Linked DNA regions of Homo sapiens: region 1 is linked to region 2. Evidence: promoter capture Hi-C in 16 types of primary human blood cells and fetal thymus (Javierre and others, 2016). All regions are on one chromosome and are shown on one strand. The core of a region is centred on a gene start or on the middle of the fragment in contact, and the rest is flanking DNA. Distances in the headings are between cores, read along the strand shown.

Region 1 (4,645 bases), core at 1-2,500, 1.2 Mb after region 2:
TATATTAAATATTACATATAATACATGTGTGCATATTCATACGTGAATATATGTGAATGTCAGTTACTCCCTGCATTTGGAATAGCTTTTATTAAATGATACAATGGTAGTGGCATATTTATTTATGAAACATTAACTGAATGATTTAAATCTTTGCAAGTCTGTCCAGTGGATGGAGACTTAAACACACTTGTTTCTACTATCTTGATTTAAGTCTTACCAAAAATAAACCAATGTGACTAAACAGTAATTATTGTTAATGTAATTAAACATTAGTGTTACTGTAAATTTTACATTTACATAAAATGTTAACATTTATATTAGTGTTAATATAAAACACATTAACAGTACTTAAAAAAGATTCTTGAAATCTGCTTTTAGATACCTCTGCTATCCAAAAACAAATATCCAGCAACTGTACTATCTAAACTGTAGCTAAAAAGAAGGAAAAAGATTTCTTTGCTGCTGAAATTTATGTCACAGTTTATGAATCAACTCATACTTTATTAAAAGCAGAGCCCCTTTAGGTGTTCTCTAATTCAGGCTATTTATTTTCCCTCATTTTACAACTTTAATAAGCTTAGTTGTATTCCCTAAGCCTCCAATATAATAAGAACAAACTGCAACAAGACACAAGGAGGTACCAATCAATAAGAAGTGTCAGTTGCGAGCAAAGAAATTGAAAAAAGCATACATATAAACTCTCAAAGTAATGGTCTAGGGCTATTTCATATAAGAGCAAATAGCCTGTTTAGACAGTAGTAGGCCCTGTCTAAACAAAACATTTTATAGTATGATACAAAAAAGGAGAAAAGAATCATGGCTAACAAAGTATTCCCTTAAGGATGTGTCCTATTTAGCTAGCCCCTCTATTGATGGTCATTTAGGCTACTTAATTCTTTTCTTTTTTATTAACAATGCTATAGGCTACATCTTGTATATATCTTTGAATACTAGATTGATCACTCTTCTTTTTGTTTTTTTGGAGACAAGGTCTCACTGTGTTGCCCAAGCTGAAGTTCAGTGGCTCAGTCATGGCTCACTGCAGCCTCAACCTCCTGAGCTCAAGTGATCCTCCCACCTCAGCCTTCCAAGTAGTTGGAAGTACGAGTGTATGCCACAATGCCTGGCTAATTTTTGTATTTTTTGTAGAGACAAGGTTTCACCATGTTGCTCAGGCTGTTCTTGAACTCCTGAGCTCAAGTAATCTGCCCACCTCAGCCTCCCAAAGTGTTGGGATTACAGGCGTGAGCCACTGTGCCCAGCCTAGAGTTTTCTATAGTACTTTTTTTTTTTTTTTTAAACAGGGTTTCACTCTGTCACCCAGGCTGGAGTGCAGAGGCACAAAGGCACAATCTCGGCTAACTGCAGTCTTCCAGGTTCAAGTGATCCTCCTACCTCAGCCTCCCAGGTAGCTGTGACTACAAGCACCCACCACCACGCCCAGCTAATGTTTTTGTATTTTTTGTAGAAACAAAGTCTCCTTGTTTTCCAGGCTGGTCTTGAACTCCTGGGCTCGAGCAGTCTGCCCATATCGACCTTCTAAAGTGCTAGGAGTTACAGGCATGAGCCACTGCACACGGCCTATAGTACACATTTTTTAAAGTAGAATTTCTGAATTTACGAAATATTTACTAAATTTCTCCTGCAAAAGGATTATACATTTGTATCATAGTTTAGGAGTACCTGGTTCACCCATACCTTTGATAACTTTGAGTATCATCAAACTCTGTAATCTGTCATTCTGGTGGGTAAAAAACAGGCATTTAATTTTTCTTTTTATTTGTGAAAAAGGTTGAACACTTACATTCTTCTGTGAATTATCTGCTAATAGTTGTTGCTCTTTTTTGTCTTGTATATTAAGAATGTGTATTTGCAAATATTTTTGTCATTTATCTTTTTTATGTGATTTTCTCTGTATAGAAGCTTTTATTATGTTAGTGCAAAGGTAATTGTGGATTTTGCCATTACTTTTAACAAAAACTGCAATTACTTTTGCGCCAACCTAATAAAAGACATCAGATTGGCCGGGTGCAGTGGCTCACGCCTGTAATCCCAACAATTTGGGAGGCCAAGGCAGGCGGATTGCTTGAGCCCAGGAATTTGAGACCAGCTTGGGCAACATGGCAAAGCCCCATCTTTACAAAAAAAAAATACAAAAATTAGCCAAGCGTGGTGGTGCTTGCCTGTAGTCGCAGCTACTTGGGAGGCTGAGATGGGATTGCTTGAGCCTGGGAGGGCGAGGCTACAGTGAGCCATGATCACGCCACCTTACTCCAGCCTGGGCAACAGAGTAAAAAGTATCAGATTTGACTGGGAAGAGGGCAGGAGGGAGCTGGAGGCACATGGGATGCTGAAAATGTTCTGTATCTTGATCTGGTGATGGTTACATGAAAGGCTCATACAAAATTTTATTGAGCTATACATTTAAGATTGTGCATTTTATAGTAAGTTACATACAAAATGTTAAAATTAAGTAGCTTTCTTAATTATCTCAGGGATTTAAAAAATACACTTCTCCCACATTTTAGCTTCTCTGAAATCAGCATGCTTCTTGAAGTTGTTGACGTGTAATTGTTTAGCTGCCAGCATTTTATCTTTATTAGAGGTTCAAAAAAATAGTGTGTTCTACAGTTGATGAAATGGAGTAATCTTTTCTTTCCTTCATTCAATAAACACTGAAGTATCTACTATGAGCCAGGCACTGTAAATAAGATAAAATTTCTGTTTTCTGGATGCAGATTTCTGTTTTCTGGTTAAAAAAAATATATAATTACCTATTTCAACGTTATTTTTAAAAAATTTAGGTGTTCTAGTATTTTTCATGTTTTAAATTTCTTTATTTAAGTCTATTTTGATTTTTCTAGGTTTCTGTTAAATTTTGGTACTGTTAGTTTTTACCTTGGATACAATGCAATGCAGGATTTTTTTCCTACTATGTCCATGAAGCCAAATCCTCAGTGTGATGACAGAAATTGCAGGAAGCAGCAGGAGGAATATAAGGTATATGACAATCTGTTAGAATGCATGAGGGATCATATTGAATAGGACAATACATAAACAGATTTGGAATACAAGATAAATGGTTAATTTATTCACCATACTTCAAAAATGAATGTTCTTTCTTGCTTTTGGTAAGATAAAAAGCCTGTCTGAATTCTTGATTAATGCTTTAGAGAACTGAGAATGAGTAAGAACACTTTGATGCTGTTTGATTTCTACAGAAAAAGGTAGCAGCACTGCCTAAACAAGAGGTTATACAAGAAGAGGAAGAGATAATCCATGAAGATAATGAATGGGGTAGGTATTCTTTTATAAATTGAAATGGCAGTATAAAACAAAACCTTTTATGGTAGCAAATCTAATAAGATTATACAAATTGAATAATTATTGCTTATTAAATTCCTTAAAAACTGACATAGGATCAAATTTACAGGTATTGAGCTGGTATCTGAGGTTTCAGAAGAGGAACTGAAAAATTTTTCAGGTCCAGTTCCAGACTTACCTGAAGGAATTACAGTGGCATACACAATTCCAAAAAAGGTACTTCAAAAATATGATTTACCCATATGTAAATATCATATAAAATATTTATCATCTTCATTCTAATTTGTAATGCCAATGAAGTATTTCCTGTTTTAGATATTTTATGCTATAGGCATTAAGATGTGAGAGAGAGGTATGCAGTGTTAATATGCAAATATTTATAGCTTAAACTTTTAAAACATAGAATAAAATGGTTTTGTTCACTCATTAATGAACCAAGTATAGTAGATTTTGATTAAATGAAGATCTCATTTTTGTTTATCGGTAGTTTTAGCTACGATGTCGTTTAAAAAGCTAGAGCTGTCAAGAATATTGAAATTACTGCCTTGTAAATCAAAAGACTGGTGAGGAATGTAAAAGACTCTGTCTTTCTTCTAAAAATTAGAAGATAGTTGTTAAAGAAAATTTACTTTATAACCTTGTTGAGCATGGTCAAAACTTGCTGATTATATATTCCTAAGCATCAAGAATTCTATATGGTTCTTTTTTCACTGTATTTCCCTTATTTGTCAATAGCAAGAAGATTCTGTCACTGAGTTAACAGTGGAAGATTCTGGTGAAAGCTTGGAAGACCTCATGGCCAAAATGAAGAATATGTAGATAATGGACTGGGATATATTGTATTTCTCATGTTAAAGCCTCTTCCCTTGAAATTAAAAAAAAATTTTAACTGATAAAACTTAGGGCAACATTAATTAATGTATATTCTTACCTGAATTGTTATACTTTTTGAAAATCCTGTGACTTGCCTGTTTCTCCCCGCTCCAACGAAATCATTAACTCTCCTAAAATGTGTTTCATTCTAGTAAGAAAACCTCAAAGGATATTGTAGGATATAAATCTTACTTGAAAACATAGCTGTTGAAATGTTTTGGCCTTTTGGAGTGGGGGAAGGACAAATCTGATCCTGTAATCTTTTTCTTTCCAGTAATCCCTTGTGTCTGTTGCATGAGGACATGGACAATAAAGTAGTATATGATCCTCAGATACAGGGAGAAGGACAAGGCATACAGCTTATTGATTAGAGCTGGCAAGCATCTGCTCATTATGTTTGGAATTGCTTTCTATAAGAAAATTGCCCACTACTACTAACTTGATC
Region 2 (4,473 bases), core at 1-2,500:
AAAAGAAAAAATAAATAAAACCAAACCACAATTTAAAAACTTCCTCCACTTAATATAGAAAAGGGAAGTCACAAATTGGAAAGTGTAGTCAGGGCCTTGGGAAAGGGCTTGGATTCTGTATACCTTTTTTTCAGGTCTCCAACCTTTTCCTCACTCCCCACATTCCTTCGGATAAGGCTCACATTTAAACTGTTAGTCGTTACCCTGGAGAAAAAAATTCATCTTCTCCTCGCAGATAAACATATTCCCCAAAAAACAGTCCTACCTATAGACATGAAAAGCCACTAACCCATTTGGAAGTGTACCTTAATAGTTTTACATTCAGTGGAGGTGGCAGAAGGTGGCATGTTGATCTTTGTCTAACAAGCTCACCTCCTCCCTGCAATGACATGGCCTAGGTTCAGAGAAGTGAAGAAACTGGGTGTGCAAAGTTAAAAGATCCACAAAAGGCATGACCTCTGAACAGGTGAACATACCAAGAAAGACCTTAGTGGGCGGAGGTCAGGAAGAAGGGGTGTAATTCTTGCATGGAGGGTCAGAACAGAAGTAAAGCTTTCTGCAGTCTACTCTCCTTTTGTAGTCAGATAAATTCAGGCTAGATTCCTAATTTTCCACTTATTAGTTGAGTGACTTTGGGCAAATTAACTCACCTCCCTAACCTTCAGTTTTATCTGTAAACCTTATGATAGCAGTTTGCTCCCGTGAGGCTACATAAGGCACCTAATACACTTAGCAGAGCGCTTAGTACCTGGCAAACGCTCACTAATTGTAAGATATGATTGCTGTTAATAGCGTTCGCTGCTAGTGGCTGGCTCATAAGCGTTTTTTAAAAATCACCACTTCAATCCCCTTAGAACGTGCTTCCTTAGGTTAACGGCCCTTATTCTTCTGTGTCCCACGTCTCAACAGAGCCCCTTCCTCCTCCACCCAGGGGAGGCCCAACTGCACCAGGCCATTCCACTGCTTCAGGACGCAACTGTGCAGGTAGGACACCCTCACACCTTCCTACCTGTTCCCCGGGCCCAGGGCAGCACCCAGGCCGTCCCCGAGTCGACCCAGCACCTGGGCGCCGACCTGCGTCAGCAGCCTCCAACCCGGCATGGATTAGCCCGGGAAGACTCGACTCACGACTTCCGGGCGCCCTGCCGCTCTGCTTTCAGGGAGTCCCCACGCCACCGCCACGTGGACGCAGTAGCCGTGGGGAAGTTTTCGCAATGGCCGCCGGAACGGTCGCCGGCCGATGCTCTCTGCGACGGAAAGAAAGCCGCCGGACCCACTTCCGGTGCGTTTTACAATGAACTCCGGGCACTCGAGTCGCTCCCCGGAAACTATAGTTCTGCTTCCACCGTTGTCCTACTTTGGATGTGAGTTGGAGTAGGTAGGGGTGGGAAGGGACTGACTCGCCTCTCCAGGGGTAAAATAAAAGGGATGTTCAGAGTTTAAACTTTAGAAGAATAAGGACAGACTTCCTGAGGACGCTAAGGAAAATGAAGACACTTCTAAATAGTGCCCGTTGTGAGGCAATGCATTATGCTAAGCAGCGCTTCATAATCCTATATTTGTTAATCATAAAAAACGGTCCTGAAAGGAAGTATTTATTTTTCTATTATAAATGAGGAAACTGACTCAGAATTTAGGTGCTGGTCCAAAACAACACATCTGGCAGAGGAGCAGAGTTGGCACTGAAACAGGGTTGGCATGTGTTATCAATAGACTACACCCATAGAAATGATGTATGCCTTCTAGGGCTGGATCATAAAACATATTGTTACTTCAGTTTTTGTCTCTTGGATTGCTCCCTGTGGAGAAAGCTAGCCTTCATTTCCTGCAGACACTCAAACAGCTCTGCAGGGAGGAACATATAAAGAGGAATCAACTAGCCAGTCATGACTGAGCCACCTAGGAAGTGGATCCACCAGTCCTCGGCTGCAACTCATGGAGACGTTAAGCCTGAATCTCCCAGCCAGGCCGCTCATGAATTACTGACTAGGAGAAATTGCCAGAGAAAATAAATGATTACCGTTTTTTTGAGTCATTAAGCTTTAGGGTAATTTGTTATGCAATAATAGATAGCTAATACACCTGCACAAAAAATCCCCTGTCTTGGGTTCCAGATCTAGCCTAATAACCATGTATGTGACTAGGACATTTATTCTTCTACTAATTCCCTTATTTGTCAGATTACTGTTTGTAGAAATTTGGAAATAAGAACTTTAAAGTGTAGCTATTTCAACCTTCTCTTTTTACTAGAGATCTGGCTATCTTGGTTTAACAGGTCCAGACAATGGTCAATTCCTGGCCATTACTTGGACTTTAGTGGGCTAAAAAATCTTTGCTTTGCTTGTCCATTCATTCCACTCATTGCTGTTGCAGTTACCTTAGACACTTTTCAATAATACTTTGGACCTTGAAGGAAAAACTACATCTCTTCATTCTAGCCATGCTGCCTGGCTTCCCAGATACTTAAGGATGGCTCTTCATTGAACAAACATGTTTTGAGGTGTGCTACATGCAAGAAGTTGAGAATAAGAAGATTTCTGTACTACTGCCAATAACTAACATTTCTTATCCATATAGTGTGCTAGAGTATGTGCTCAGCATTGTGGAAGCCCATAAGCCAAGGCTACTAGAAGAAAACGTGAACTCATACAAAGTCAAGTTTAATTAGCTTGATGCAGCAAAAGACAGCATATGTCTGAGGATGTTTCCAAAAGAGTGACCTGGGAGGGGCTTGAAATGAAATTTGGACTTAAGGCTGAGTGATTTTAAAGTGGCATCAGAGAAGCAGGAACTTGTTTTAGAATGGGTGCTGTCAAGAAGAAAGGACAGTTCAGCAATTGGATATCTTGATAGTCTTTGTTCTAGAGACAGGAAGAACAGAGAGGAAGTGGGCATGATGTTCATAAGAAAGCAGGAATCACTCAGAATAAGGAACTGTTAGTCATTTTGCTGCAGTGGTGTGGCCTACAGTACGGTCTGTAAGAAATATTGTAATGATGGGCTGGGCGTGGTGGCTCAGCACTTTGGGATGCCAAGGCGGGTGGATCACGAGGTCAGGAGATTGAGACCATCCTGGCTGACATGGTGAAACCCCTTCTCTACTAAAAATACAAAAAAAAATTAGCCGGGCGTAGTGGCGGGTGCCTGTAGTCCCAGCTACTCAGGAGGCTGAGGCAGGAGAATGGTGTGAACCTGGGAGGCGCAGCTTGCAGTGAGCGAGATTGAGCCACTGCACTCCAGCCTGGGTGACAGAGCAAGACTCCGTCTCAAAAAAAAAAAAAAGAAATATTGTATTGATGTTCTGCTATAAACACTGCAGTCCAGTTACTAATAGTATTCATTTTTACTCTCTCAGTGTATTTTCTCACTTGATTGTTATGACAATCTGCTGTGACAATAGTATAATTATCTGGATCTTACAGTTAAGAAAATAGGCATACAGAGATTACATAACTTAAATAAAATCACCCAGCTATTAACTGGTAGAGCCAAAGACTGTGACCATAGATAGAGCTTATGCTTTTAGACATTTTGTTTCTTTGGCTCTCTATGACAAATATGTCACTACTCTTGCCTTGGAATTTCTTTAAGGCTAAAGAGGAAAATCGGTAAGTAATCACACGCAGTGGTCAGTGAGGATTGAAGAGGTAGCCATTTGGTCTAACCTTTTCCCATAGTACCAAATATCTCCTAGTCCATAAGGAGGACCTTGACAGCAGGCACCACCGCTGAACTGAATCAAAGTAAAACATGGTTTGTCTGCTGTCGTAAAAAATGTGTCTCCTGATTGCCAGCCAGGGCTGAGTGGTGTCATACTTGATTTAGTCACTGTAATATGCTGCTGACAGCTACTAGGCCCAGTTGTCAAGGGACCCAGCCTAGGCTTTTCTAGGGCAGTCAGGCACTGACCTAGAGCTTCCTGTTATTTCTGATGTCATCCTTCAGACACTGCCTTAGACCCTGAAACTGTAATGCCATTTTGCCTCTCTAAGATTTCAATTCCTTATTGGAACGAAGATAACTTGCACTTTCTCTTTTTAGTGGTACAGTTCTATAACTCTTACTCCGCTAATTCAGACCAACAGATGATCTCATAAACCTTCTCTTATTAAATAAAACATTAGGAATAGATTCATTTTTGAATTACTAAAGCCATGTTCAATACAAGAGAATCATCATAGAAGGAGCAGATTTCAAAGCAAGAGTTCACTGGAAATAATCTTTTATATGTGTTCCTGCCATTAGGCTCTACCATTAGCTCTTATAATGTTTGTGATATATCCTGTATAGTTGGATTATTGCAAGATGGTAAATTTTGTGTTGGGTAATTTCCACTTTAGTATTCATTTATGCTGTCTCTTAGTTTATAACATACCTTATATTTGAAATTAGAAATCTTTTAAACAATGAGTTTGGATTTACTAAGTTATCCTTTTTTTTCTCCATTTTTCTCAAGTTGTGAGAATCTAGCAT

The links. Contacts are between HindIII fragments. The CHiCAGO score rates a contact against its expected background, and 5 or more counts as called.
Region 1: a contact is called between a fragment that was not itself captured here and the fragment with the promoter of MRPL3 in region 2, in 1 of 17 cell types (total CD8 T cells). The highest score is 5.1, in total CD8 T cells.

What each region holds. Positions count from the first base shown.
Region 1 is chr3:132,672,381-132,677,025 of GRCh38, forward strand. It overlaps UBA5 (ubiquitin like modifier activating enzyme 5), which reads left to right. Exons shown (of 12, transcript NM_024818.6): 9 at 2,868-3,003; 10 at 3,225-3,300; 11 at 3,437-3,543; 12 at 4,063-4,645. The coding sequence ends at 4,146. The region is part of intron 26 of NPHP3-ACAD11 (NPHP3-ACAD11 readthrough (NMD candidate)); the gene reads right to left. Among named protein-coding and RNA genes, the nearest start is that of UBA5, 14 kb to the left of the region's middle. The HindIII fragment of the contact is 1,347 bases long and covers 578-1,924 here.
Region 2 is chr3:131,501,721-131,506,193 of GRCh38, forward strand. It overlaps MRPL3 (mitochondrial ribosomal protein L3), which reads right to left and starts at 1,251. Exons shown (of 10, transcript NM_007208.4): 1 at 1,010-1,251. The coding sequence starts at 1,101. It overlaps LOC105374114 (a long non-coding RNA gene), which reads left to right and starts at 879. Exons shown (of 3, transcript NR_189111.1): 1 at 879-984. RefSeq lists enhancers at 887-1,573, 1,080-1,149. The HindIII fragment of the contact is 1,488 bases long and covers 551-2,038 here.